3 separate regions of the Homo sapiens genome follow, and all the other regions are linked to region 1. The links are contacts of gene promoters, found by promoter capture Hi-C in human tissues and cell types (Jung and others, 2019). All regions are on one chromosome and are shown on one strand. Each heading gives the region's core, a stretch centred on a gene start or on the middle of the fragment in contact. The rest is flanking DNA. Distances are from core to core; before and after follow the strand shown.

The links. The method cuts DNA at HindIII sites, captures the fragments that hold promoters and counts their contacts. A contact is called where the count stands out against the background at its distance.
Region 2: a contact is called between a fragment that was not itself captured here and the fragment with the promoter of GOLGA2 in region 1, in 2 of the 25 tissues and cell types used here (dorsolateral prefrontal cortex and lymphoblastoid cells).
Region 3: a fragment that was not itself captured here is called in contact with the fragment with the promoter of GOLGA2 in region 1 in 3 of the 25 tissues and cell types used here (dorsolateral prefrontal cortex, lymphoblastoid cells and spleen).

The regions. Positions count from the first base shown.
Region 1 is chr9:128,274,462-128,278,111 of GRCh38, reverse strand. It overlaps GOLGA2 (golgin A2), which reads left to right and starts at 2,105. Exons shown (of 27, transcript NM_001366244.2): 1 at 2,105-2,219. The coding sequence starts at 2,136. It overlaps SWI5 (SWI5 homologous recombination repair protein), which reads right to left and starts at 1,836. Exons shown (of 5, transcript NM_001318089.2): 1 at 1,710-1,836; 2 at 1,357-1,405. The coding sequence starts at 1,771. RefSeq lists enhancers at 1,602-1,731, 2,592-2,641 and a silencer at 2,332-2,441. The HindIII fragment of the contact is 26,420 bases long and covers 1-3,650 here.
Region 2 is chr9:128,193,423-128,197,072 of GRCh38, reverse strand. It overlaps a transcript of CIZ1 not described here. Among named protein-coding and RNA genes, the nearest start is that of CIZ1, 3.7 kb to the right of the region's middle. RefSeq lists an enhancer at 3,433-3,650. The HindIII fragment of the contact is 6,885 bases long and covers 1-3,650 here.
Region 3 is chr9:128,342,689-128,346,338 of GRCh38, reverse strand. It overlaps SLC27A4 (solute carrier family 27 member 4), which reads right to left. Exons shown (of 13, transcript NM_005094.4): 2 at 3,046-3,212; 3 at 790-1,184. The coding sequence starts at 3,206. It also overlaps the pseudogene TMSB4XP4. Among named protein-coding and RNA genes, the nearest start is that of SLC27A4, 4.0 kb to the right of the region's middle. The HindIII fragment of the contact is 5,235 bases long and covers 1-3,650 here.

The DNA.
Region 1 (3,650 bases), core at 856-3,355:
GCGTCATGGCACACAACTGTGGTTCCAGCTATTTGGGACGCTGAGGCAAGAGGATGGGTTGGGCCTGGGAGGCAGAGGTTACAGTGAGCCCAGATCGCACCATTGCACTCCAGCCCGGGCGACAGAGTGCGACTGTGTCTCAAAAAAAAAAAAAAAAAAAAAAGAGAAGGAATGAATTAGCATGAATGAGAAAGGCATGATCTGCAGTGAGTTACCGCATGGTCAAAGACAGTGGATACCAACCCACTTGCAGAGAGAAGCTCAATCAGCCCAGTGCTTTTGGCAAACTATGGCTGCCACCCCGTCATCGTCATCTGAGCTCACTGTGAGTTGCCCTTCAGGCCCTGCCTCTGACCCTGCCATCTCTGGAGAGCCCTCTTTGCAAGCCCAAGCCTGGGCTCCCCATCTCAGAACCATGTGCATACTTGTCCTGGAATTATTTTTTTGCCTGTGGCTCCTGGAGGGCAGGGGGCTATCTGGCATACACCTGCATTGCAGCAGTTGCTAAATCAATGAACAAATACCAAGTCTTTCCCGATCTAACTTCTTTTTTGTTTTTGAGACTTGTCTAGCTCTGTTGTCCAGGCTGGAGTGCAGTGGTGCAATCTCGGCTTACTGCAACCTCCACCTTCCGGGTTCAAGCAATTCTCCTGCCTCAGCCTCCTGAGTAGTTGGGATTACAGGCCTGCACCACCACGCTCGGCTGATTTTTTTGTATTTTTAGTAGAGACAGGGTTTCATCATGTTGGGCAGGCTGGTCTTGAACTCCTGACCTCAAATGATCTGCCCGCCTCAGCCTCCCAAAGTGCTGGGATTACAGGTGTGAGCCACTGCACCCGGCCCTCACGATCTACCTTAAGAGTGGTGGTAGTTGTAGTGGCAACTCCATCTGGGGGATGAGAGAAGGAGTAGGCTGCGTTTTGGGGGTGGCTTGCCAGCGAAGAGGAGAGACTATTAGCAACGAAAGGAGTGGCCAGGGTGAACGCCAAGCATTTTCCTGACTGGGGAGCTATGGGTTTGTTTAAAGGCAGGGCTGGGTGAGGGGTGAAAAGAGCGAGGAGGAGAGATGGCTGGTGCTGGACTGGAGTGAAAGGCATCTGAGGAGCCAGGAGACAGGATGGGGAGGGAGAGGAGTTAGCCTAGGACAGGACAGGATAACACTTCTTTGAAGACTGGCGGGCATGAGGAAAGGAAGGGGAGGGATTCGGGAATGACCTGGCGGTTCTCAGTCGACTGGGAGAAGATATGGAAGAGGGCCAAGCGGGGATTGGCTGCTGTTGGGATGGGGAGTGGGGCCGGGAGCGCACAAGGGAAGGTCGAGGATGGGAAAGGGGGTGTGGGGGAAGAAATACTCACAGGGGATCGGAAGGCCCCGCGGCAACTTCGGGTAAGTCTTGGTTCAGTCCTAGAGAGGAATCCGAGGGGAAAGTCTGATTGGACCCACAGCCCGCTGTGAGGACGGGGTACTGTGGGGATGCGGGAGGAGGAGCAGTTGGGAAGTAGGAGCGCCAGGGACTGGATCCATCTGGAAAGGGGGCAGACACGCTCTCAGGATCAGGGTAGAGACCCTCTAGGAAGGGGGCGTTCTGAGACGGGGGTTGTCTGGAGCACTGGATGGGAGTCTTTGGAGGTGATTTCTGGGAAGGGAGAGTCTGGGGCAGGGCTGTGAGGAGTCAGGAAAGAAACTGTGGAGTCCGTTCCTCGCCCACCTCCTGAGCCCTGGGGTCCGAGGCCCCCGGATCAGGGGGTTCAATGGCGCAAGAGGGTCCAGCGCGGGAGTCGGAGAGCGACCTCTCAGGTGCACCGGGCCAGGAACTCTGACCCGGAGTGTGAACTGGCGCACAGAAAGCTGCGCGCGCACCCAAGGAAAGCCGGCCCCGCCCCTCTCCCGAGGTGGGCGGGGACAGCGGTTGCGTGCGCAGCTTTTGTTGTGACGCCACAGGTCCCTCTGGCCACGCCGCTGCATAGCCACGCCCCCTTCCGCTTCATATTTCTCATTGACCAATGGGCTTTGATCTTTGAGGCCACGCCCCCATTCTGCGCTCCAGTATCGCCCTGGTTACGCCTCCTCTGGCTCCGTCGCACAGCTGCGCGGTGGCTGACTGACTTCCGCAGTGGTTGCCGGGATCGCGCTGATGTGGCCCCAACCCCGCCTCCCTCCCCGCCCCGCGATGTCGGAAGAAACCCGACAGAGCAAATTGGCCGCAGCGAAGAAAAAGGTAAAGTGCACCGGGTCGCGGCCCCCCGACCCAGCCCCAGCCCCACTCCGATGGCAGGACCATGGCCAGAGTCTCTGCCACTCCTGAGGCACACCGGGCTGGGCTCCCCACGGCGCGTCCGGGCTCCCTCCACCAAAGTCTTGTCAGCCAGCCCCGCCCCCTCAGCCGCCCAGCCCCCGCCCTCGCCAGTCGCCCCCGGGTGACTTTGGGCTGGTGCTCCCGGGGCTCCCCGCTCCAGACTCGGCCCTCACCTCCTGCCCCCCGAAGTCCGACCTCCCTGGGCTCTTTGGGCTGGCGTCTCCAAGGACCTAGGACCCCAGCAATTCAGCCCCTGCCCTCGCCAGTGACTTTGGGCCCGTGACTCCCGGGGCCCCCCGCTCCAGACTCGACCCTCACCTCCTGCCGCCCCAAACCGGACCTCCCGGGGTTCTTTGGTCTCGGGTCTCCAAGGACCTGGGTCCTGGCCCTGCGGTCCCCTCCCCCATCGCGGAGCGGCGACTTGGACGTCGCGCTGATGTTCCCCCTAGGAGTGGAATGTAGTGACGTCACAATCCCCCTCGGAACCGTAATTAGTTGCGCGAGACCAGTCTTTGATCTTAGGACCCAGTCCCCTAAGTGTTCTCATCCCGCTTCTGGTTCCTCTGGTCACAGCATAAATTTCCAGCTGGAAGGGGATTGGGGACTATGGGACCTAGGAGGGAGAGGTTTCAGGCTGCCTTACACCCTTAACATAGACATTGACAGTGTGAAAAGCCTACACTTCACCCGTGAACTGAAAACATTGGCAGTATCTCTGGGTGGCAATGTGAGAACGGGATTGGTTTGGTTTTCCCCCAGGCTTCTACTCTCCAGAGAGACTTTAACATTTTTTTCTGACTTCTCCACCTCATATTCGAATTCTCCATGGTTCTGGGACCAGAGTGCCCTTCAGTGGTCTCTGGAATGAGATCTGCTTATCTTCTGTGGAACAGGTCTTGGGAAACTGAACTTGACAGCTTGAATCTTCCTCATATCATCTCAACCTGGGGTACTTGGAGTGCCACAGGATAAATACGGGGCATCTTTCTGAAGCATCAGTCTCCCTTTATTCTCTTGAGAGAGAAAAAACATTAATGTACTTAGGGATGACAGTCACATAAATTTCTAAGAGTATACCAGACTTTTCTCTGAAATGAGGCTTGGGTTGTCCTCTTTCTGTTAAATTCCCAGGTTCAACAGAAAGGCTGCCTTCTGCCATGTGGATACATTGATGTAAAAGTTTGAGAGGCATTGGTGCATTTCTTAACATTACCAAACGTGTGAGGATGTATGACTCTAAACCACACAGTGTACAGTTCCTGCCGACTTAATGTTCCGGCCCACATTTTAAGATACATATTTATTTTTAGAGAGGGGGTGTCACTGTGTTGCCCAGTCTGACCTTGAACTCCT
Region 2 (3,650 bases), core at 436-2,935, 81 kb after region 1:
GCAAGGTGGGGAGGTGGCAGGTTACAAGATAAAGAAGCTATAGTCAATTGCCAGTTAGAAAGAGTACTGGGAAAATAGCAATAATAGCTACCATAGAAACTGTGCAAGTACTAGGTGAAGAGGCCTGTGAAACTAACTTACTGCAAGGCTTGAATAAATAGAGACATTCGCGGCCAGGTGCAGTGGCTCATGCCTGTAATCTCAGCACTTTGAGAGGCTGAGGCGGGGGTATCACAAGGTCAAGAGGTCGAGACCATTCTGGCCAACATGGTGAAACCTTGTCTCTACTAAAAATACAAAAATTAGCCGGGCGTGGTGGCGGGTGCCTGTAGTCCCAGCCACTCAGGAGGCTGAGGCAGGAGAATTGCTTGAACCCGGGAGGTGGAGGTTGCATTGAGCAGAGATCGTGCCACTGCACTCCAGCCTGAAGACAGAGCGAGACTCTGTCTCAAATAAATAAATAAATAATAGAGACATTCACCTCATTCTTTTCTTTTCTCTTTCTTTCTTTCTTTTTTTTTTTTTGAGACAGGGTCTCACTCTGTTGCCAAGGCTGAAGTGCAGTGGCACGATCGTGGCTCACTGTAGACTTGACCTCTCTGGCCCAAGTGATCCTCTCACCTCAACCTCCCAAGTAGCTGAGACTACAGGCACACACCACCATGCCCAGCTAATTTTTAGTTATTTGTAGAGACGGTGATCTCCCTATATTGTCCAGCCTGGTCTTGAATTTCTGGGCTCAAGGAATCCTCCCACCTTGGCCTCTCAAACTATTGGGATTATAGGTGTGAGTCACAACACCTGGCCCATTTACCTCCTTCTTAAACTGAAAAACGGGGGGTAAAGACGTCAGTTTTTCTCTAATTTAAACATATTTAGTGCAACACCAATCAAAATTCTAATGAGGTCCAGGTTTAGTGGCTCATGCCTGTAATCCCAGCAATTTAGGAGGCCAAGGTGGGTGGATCATCTGAAGTCAGGAGTTCGAGACCAGCCTGGACAACATGGTAAAACCCCATCTCTACTAAAAATACAAAAAATTAGCTGGGTGTGGTGGTGCATGCCTGTAATCCCAGCTACTTGGGAGGCTGAGACACAAGAATCACTCAAACCCAGGAGGCAGCGGGTGCAGTGAACCAAGATTGCACCACTGCACTCCAGCTTGGGCGACAGAGCGAGACTCTGCCTCAAAAACAAACAAACAAAAATTCTGATGGGATTTCAGAGGCTGGGGAAGGTTTGACAAAATTCTATGAAGTATCTGAAAAAAATATATAATTGGGAATTAGCAAAAATTTTTTAAAGAATAACAATGTCAGGGGCTTGCACTATGAGGGGGTAAACATATTCTAAAGCTATAATAATCAAAGTATGTGACATCATCATGAGAAGGGATAGATAGAGTCCATGAGAAGGGATAGATAGATAAAGTCCTGGAGCAGAATAGGTCTGGAAGGCCTGGCATGGAGGCTCACGCTTGTAATCCCAGCACTTTGGGAGGCCAAGGTGGGTAGATCACTTGAGATCAGGAGTTTGAGACCAGCCTAGTCAACATGGTGGAACCCCATCTCTACTGAAAATACAAAAATTAGCCGGGTGTGGTGGCGCATGCTTGTAGTCTCAGCTACTCAGGATGCTGAGGCACGAGAATCACTTAAATCCAGGAGGCAGAGACTGCAGTGAGCTGAGATCACACCACTGCACTCCAGCGTGGATGACAGAACAAAATTCTGTCTCAAAAAAACAAAACAAAACAAAAACACCTGGGATGGTAATGTGCATGCATTTTATAAGCCAGTGAGCTCACTTCACATCATATTGTGGGTGTTTATCCTTTGAAAACATAATTTCTGATGGCTGGGCACTGTTCCTTAAAAGGTGACACCATGACTTATTTAGCTATTCCCCTAAAGTTGATTATTTTCCAGACAGCTATTATAAATAATGTTTTGGCTGAATGTGGTGGCTCACACCTGTAATCTCAGCACTTCAGGAGACCATGGTAGGAGAATCACTTGAACCTATGAGTTCAAGACCAGCCCGGGCAACATAGTGAGACCCCTGTCTTTAAAAAAAAAAATACAAAAATTTGCTGGGCGTGGTGGCATGGACTTGTAGTCCTAGCTGCTCAGGAGGCTGAGGTAGGAGGCTCCATTGAGCCAGGGAGGGAAAGGCTGCAGTGAGCTATGATCGTGCCACTGCGCTCCAGACTGGGAGACAGAGCAAGACCCTGTCTCTTTTTTTTTGTTTTGTTTTGAGACAGTTTTGCTCTTGTTGCCCAGGCTGGAGTGCAACGATGGGATCTTGGCTCACTGCAACCTCTGCCTACCAGGTTCAAGCGATTCTCCTGCCTCAGTCTCCTGAGTAGCTGGGATTACAGGTGCCCACCACCAGGCCCAGCTAATTTTTTGTATTTTTAGTAGAGACGGGGTTTCACTATGTTGGCCAGGCTGGTCTCGAACTCCTGACCTCAGGCGATCCACCCACCTCAGCCTCCCAAAGTGCTGGGATTGTAGGCGTGAGCCACCATGCCCAGCTGAGGCTGTCCTTAAAAAGAAAAAAGAAAAAATATATAAATATTTCCATGAACAACCTGCTATCTTGTAAAAGTCTCATTTCTGATTATTTTCTTAGGCTAGACTCCTACAAATGGTGTTATTGGGTCAAAGGGCAAAACATGTGCAAGATTCTTTTTTTTTTTTTTTTTTTTGAGATGGAGTTTTGCTCTTGTCACCCAGGCTGGAGTGCAATGGTACGATCTTGGCTCACTGCAACCTCCGGCTCCCAGGTTCAAGCAATTCTCCTGCCTCATCCTCCCGAGTAGCTGGGATGACAGGCGTCTGCCACCATGCCCGGCTAATTTTTGTATTTTTAGTAGAGATGAGGTTTCACCATGTTGGCCAGGCTGGTCTTGAACTCTTGACCTCAGGTGATCCGCCTGCTTCAGCCTCCCAAAGTGCTGGGATTACAGACATGAGCCACTGCATCGGCCCAAGATTCTTGATATAAAATTTGCAAATTGCTTCCCAGAAAGATGAACCAACACAGGAAGTTAGTGCTGGCTTTCCACCTTCACCAGCACAAGCATTATTTTTAGTTTTTTCACTTTGGCAATTTGCTAAGCTCCTTCTGTGCCAGGTGCCAGTGCTAAGCATTATGTAATGTCATCCTTACCACCCCGGGAGGGGGCACACATTTCACCAAGGAGGAAACCAGCTAAGAGGCCTCTCCCCCAGCCAGTGTCACCTAGCCACAAGGCAGGGGAGTCACGATTCAATCCTGGACCTCTCCAACGCTAGCACCCAGATCAAGGTGTTAACATGCTTGCTTGGCAGCCTGGGCAGTCTTTGATTTTTATTTTTTAAAATGGAGTCTCACTCTGTCGCCCAGGCTGGAATGCAGTGATGTGATCTCGGCTGCAACCTCTGCCTCCCGGGTTCAAGCGATTCTTCTGCCTCAGCCTCCCGAGTAGCTGAGATTACAGGCGCCCGCCACCACATCCGGCTAATTTTTTTTGTATTTTTAGTAGACACGTAGTTTTACCATGTTGGCCAGGCTGGTGTCGAACTCCTGACCTTAAGTGATCCACTTGCCTGGACCCCCCACAAAGTGCTGGGATTACAGGGGTGAGCCGCTGTGCCCAGTAGAGC
Region 3 (3,650 bases), core at 293-2,792, 69 kb before region 1:
TTGCTTGAACCCGGGAGGTGGAGGTTGCAGTGAGCCGAGATCACGCCACTGCACTCCAGCCTGGGCGACAGAGCAAGACTCTATCTCAAAACAACAACAACAAAAAAAACAAAAAAAAACAAAAAACTTTTTTTAGTAGGCCAGGTGTGGTGGTTCATGCCTATAATCCCAGCACTTTGAGAGGCAGAGGTAGGTGGATCGCTTGAACTCAAGAGTCTGAGACCAGCCTGGGCAACATGGCAAAACTGAGTATCTACAAAAAATGTGAAATTTAGCCAGGCATGGTGGTGCATGTCTGTGGTCCCAGCTATTCAGGAGGCTGAGGTGGAGGGACTGCTTGAGCCTGAGAGGTCAAGGCTGCAGTGAGCTGTGACTGCACCACTGCACTCCAGCCTGGGTGACAGGGCAAGACCCTGTCTCAAAAAAATTTCTTAGTAGAGACAGGGTCTTACTATGTTGCCTAGGCTGGTCTCAAACTCCTGGGCTCAAGGGATCCTCCTGCCTTGGCCTCCCAACATGCTGGGATTACAGCTGTGAGCCACTATGCCCAGTCTGAAGTACCTTTTTGAAAACAGTATGAGGTAGGAACGACGGATGAGGAAACTGAGGCTCAGAGAAATCAGTCCCTTCCCCAGGATCTCGTTTACTCGTGGCACTGCCTAAGCTGTCTGACTCCACTCTGTGCCCTTAACCACTGACCCACACAGCCTTGGCAGGGCTGGAAGGGAGCTGTGGTCTGTGTAAGATCCCATGGGGTTCCTGCTTGTCCCCCGCCCCCTTGGGGCTCACCTGAGGCCATTTCGCTGCCAAAGACAAGGGCCCGTGCGCGCGAGGTGGTGAGGCAGTGGAGCAGAGCATCCCGCCGCAGGTTGGTGTTGATGAGGGCTGCCTCCACACCGAGCTTGGCCATGCCCAGCCATAGGCCCACGAACTCATTGCGGTTCTCCATGAAGATGGCAGCCACATCGCCCGAGGCCAGGCCCCGGGCCTGCAGGAAGTTGGCTACACTGCTTGAGTACTCATCCAGCTGGCGGAAGGTCCAGTGGGTATCTGTGCCCTCGAAGATCAGGGCCGTCTTGTCGGGGTGGCGCCGAACGGTAGAGGCAAACAAAATGGGCACTGTCCGCCGCTCCTGCAGGCACTGTCGCACCTTTGCCTTCACCTTCAGGAGGACCAGGCCGCCACTGTGTGTGAACAAGAGAGGGCGCTGTGTCTGCCATGGTTGGGAGGGAGGGGTCCTGACACCCTACCCCAGGCTGCTGCCTCGCCAGCCTATGCTTCATGAGCCAGACCCCCTACAACACTTCTATCTCCTGGCTCCTGCTGGGAACATGCACTGCCTTACTGATGCCTCTCAATAACACTGAGAGTTCGTATGATTCCCCTCCCCTTACACAGAAGGAAATCAAGGCTCTCGTGGTGCCGTGGCCTGCTCAAAGCTTCATGGATGGAGGGTGGCTGAGCTGAGATTTGAACTCTAGGCCTCTCTGGCTCCAGAGTTCTACTCCTACCCTCTCAGCCTGCTGCTCCAGCAGAAACCTCCTAGGTCTCCAGAGCTTCCTGTAAAAGTCCAAACTCCTTGTTTGGGGCCTCCCACAGTCCAGCTGCTCCCTCGACCCACCATGACCACAGTAAATAATGAATGAGTTTGCTGGTCTGTCCAGTCTTCCTCCCTGTGAGCCTAGCTGGGATAGGCTTCTGTCTTATTCAACACTCTATCCCCTGGGTCCTGTGCCAGGCAGAGTAGATGTTCAATAAGTTTGTGGAATCACTTGGCAACATCCCATTCCTGCCACCTTTGTTTTTTTGTTTTTTTTTTTGAGATGGCGTCACACTCTGTCACCCAGGTTGGAGTGCAGTGATGCAATGTCAGCTCATTGCAACCTCCACTTCCCAGGCTCAAATGATGCTCCCACCTCAGCCTCCCAAGTAGCTGGAACCACAGGTGTGCACCACCATGCCTGGCTAACTTTTTTGTATTTTGGTAGGGACGGGGTTTTGCCATGTTGCCCAGGTTAGTCTCAAACTCCTGAGGTCAAGTGATCCACCCACTTCGGCCTCCCAAAGTGCTAGGATCACAGGTGTGAGCCACTGCGCCCAGCCCTGGACTCCATGCCTTTGTTGCTGATGCTGTGCCTTCTGGTTGGATTCATCTCCTTCCACCACCACTAAGGCGCCTCTCAAGTACAGCCGCTTTTTCTCCAGGAGGCCTTCTCTGATTCCCAGGGTCCTGGCTGGCAGCTGTTTCTCCTTGCTCCATGCTCCCACAGCTACCACCCTTCCTGGTGTGCCACTCCGTGCCTTCTTTTGCAATCAACCAAGATTGACAAATGCTGAGCTGCCTGTGTGGGGTGTGGGTCACTGAACTGGGTGCTGGGACACAGTAGTGAGCAAGGCTGTGCCAGGGTCTCTGCCCACATGGCACTGCCAATTTACAGATGTGCTGTGTCCCTTTCTTTCTCCTGACCAATCTGAGCTTGGCAGATGGGGTCTGCCTTATTCCTCTCTGGACCCCAAAGCTAGCCTGGCACCTAGTAGAGAACAAGCGGGAATAGATATTTCTGGTACAGGATGTCCCTTGGAGCATACCGGGCTTTCTTTGGGGAGCAGGTTATCCCAGACATCTGAGTAGGGGCTCTGCTCTAGAACTCAGTGCCCCCTGTGCCATCTCACACCCCTGCCAACCTGAGGGCAGGGCCTTTCCCCAAAATTCCTCTTTACCCTTTCATAAACTTACAGAGTCCTCAGGACCCCTTGCAGATGTCTCAACACACTTGGTGTTCAATGTACGTCCTAGGCCAAGCCTGCCCAAGGCCTGGGAGCCTCAAGTTAGGGAGATTCCCTGGGAGAAGACTTTGACCTTGGAGATGGAGGGACCAGGTACTATTGCCAGGGTACGGGTGTGGAGCAGAGGCTGCTGTTCTGGAACTCAGCTCAGCTGCCCTGTGCTGGTAGAGAACATGAGGTCTGGCCTGGGGAGATTTGGGGGACCAGAAGCTCACTGTAGTGTGGCAGACCCCAGGAAAGGCTGGGCCAGGTACTCACAAGATATCGCGCCTGATGGTCTTGATGAAGACCCGGATGAAGCGCCAGCCGCCAGATCCCAAGTAGAGGAACAACAGGGAGAATCCCACCTGGGTCCAGGGCAGTTTCAGCACCAGCTTGGAGAACAGCAGCACCCCCACCAGAGAGGCTCCAAGCAGCATTGTGGCCTGCGGACACAGGGCAGTTAGTGGACCCAAACACCCAACCCTCCAGGTCTCCTACCTCCCAGCCCAGACAGCCAGGCCACTGTGATCCCAAGGGGACAGCCTGTGGTAAGGCTTAGCCATACTGAGTTGGGTGACTGACCACAGGGGTCCCTTTCCAGGCTTGGCCTGGAAGGGGCAGGCTAGGGGCTTGGCACTTGAGGTGAGGAATTCCAAGAGTGAGAAGCAGGAGGCTGGTTCTCGTCTCATAGTCCCATCTCTGCCCACCATTCTCCAAGTGACCTTGGGCAAGACCTTTTCACATTTTAGACCTTAGTATCTGCCCTCTGTGCAATGGGTGTAGTGAGACGTGTTCTTTTTTTTTTTAAGTTTTTAAACTTTTTATTTGCATATTAAAAAAACTGTGCATTCCAATAATTAAAATCATTTGAACAAAAAAAA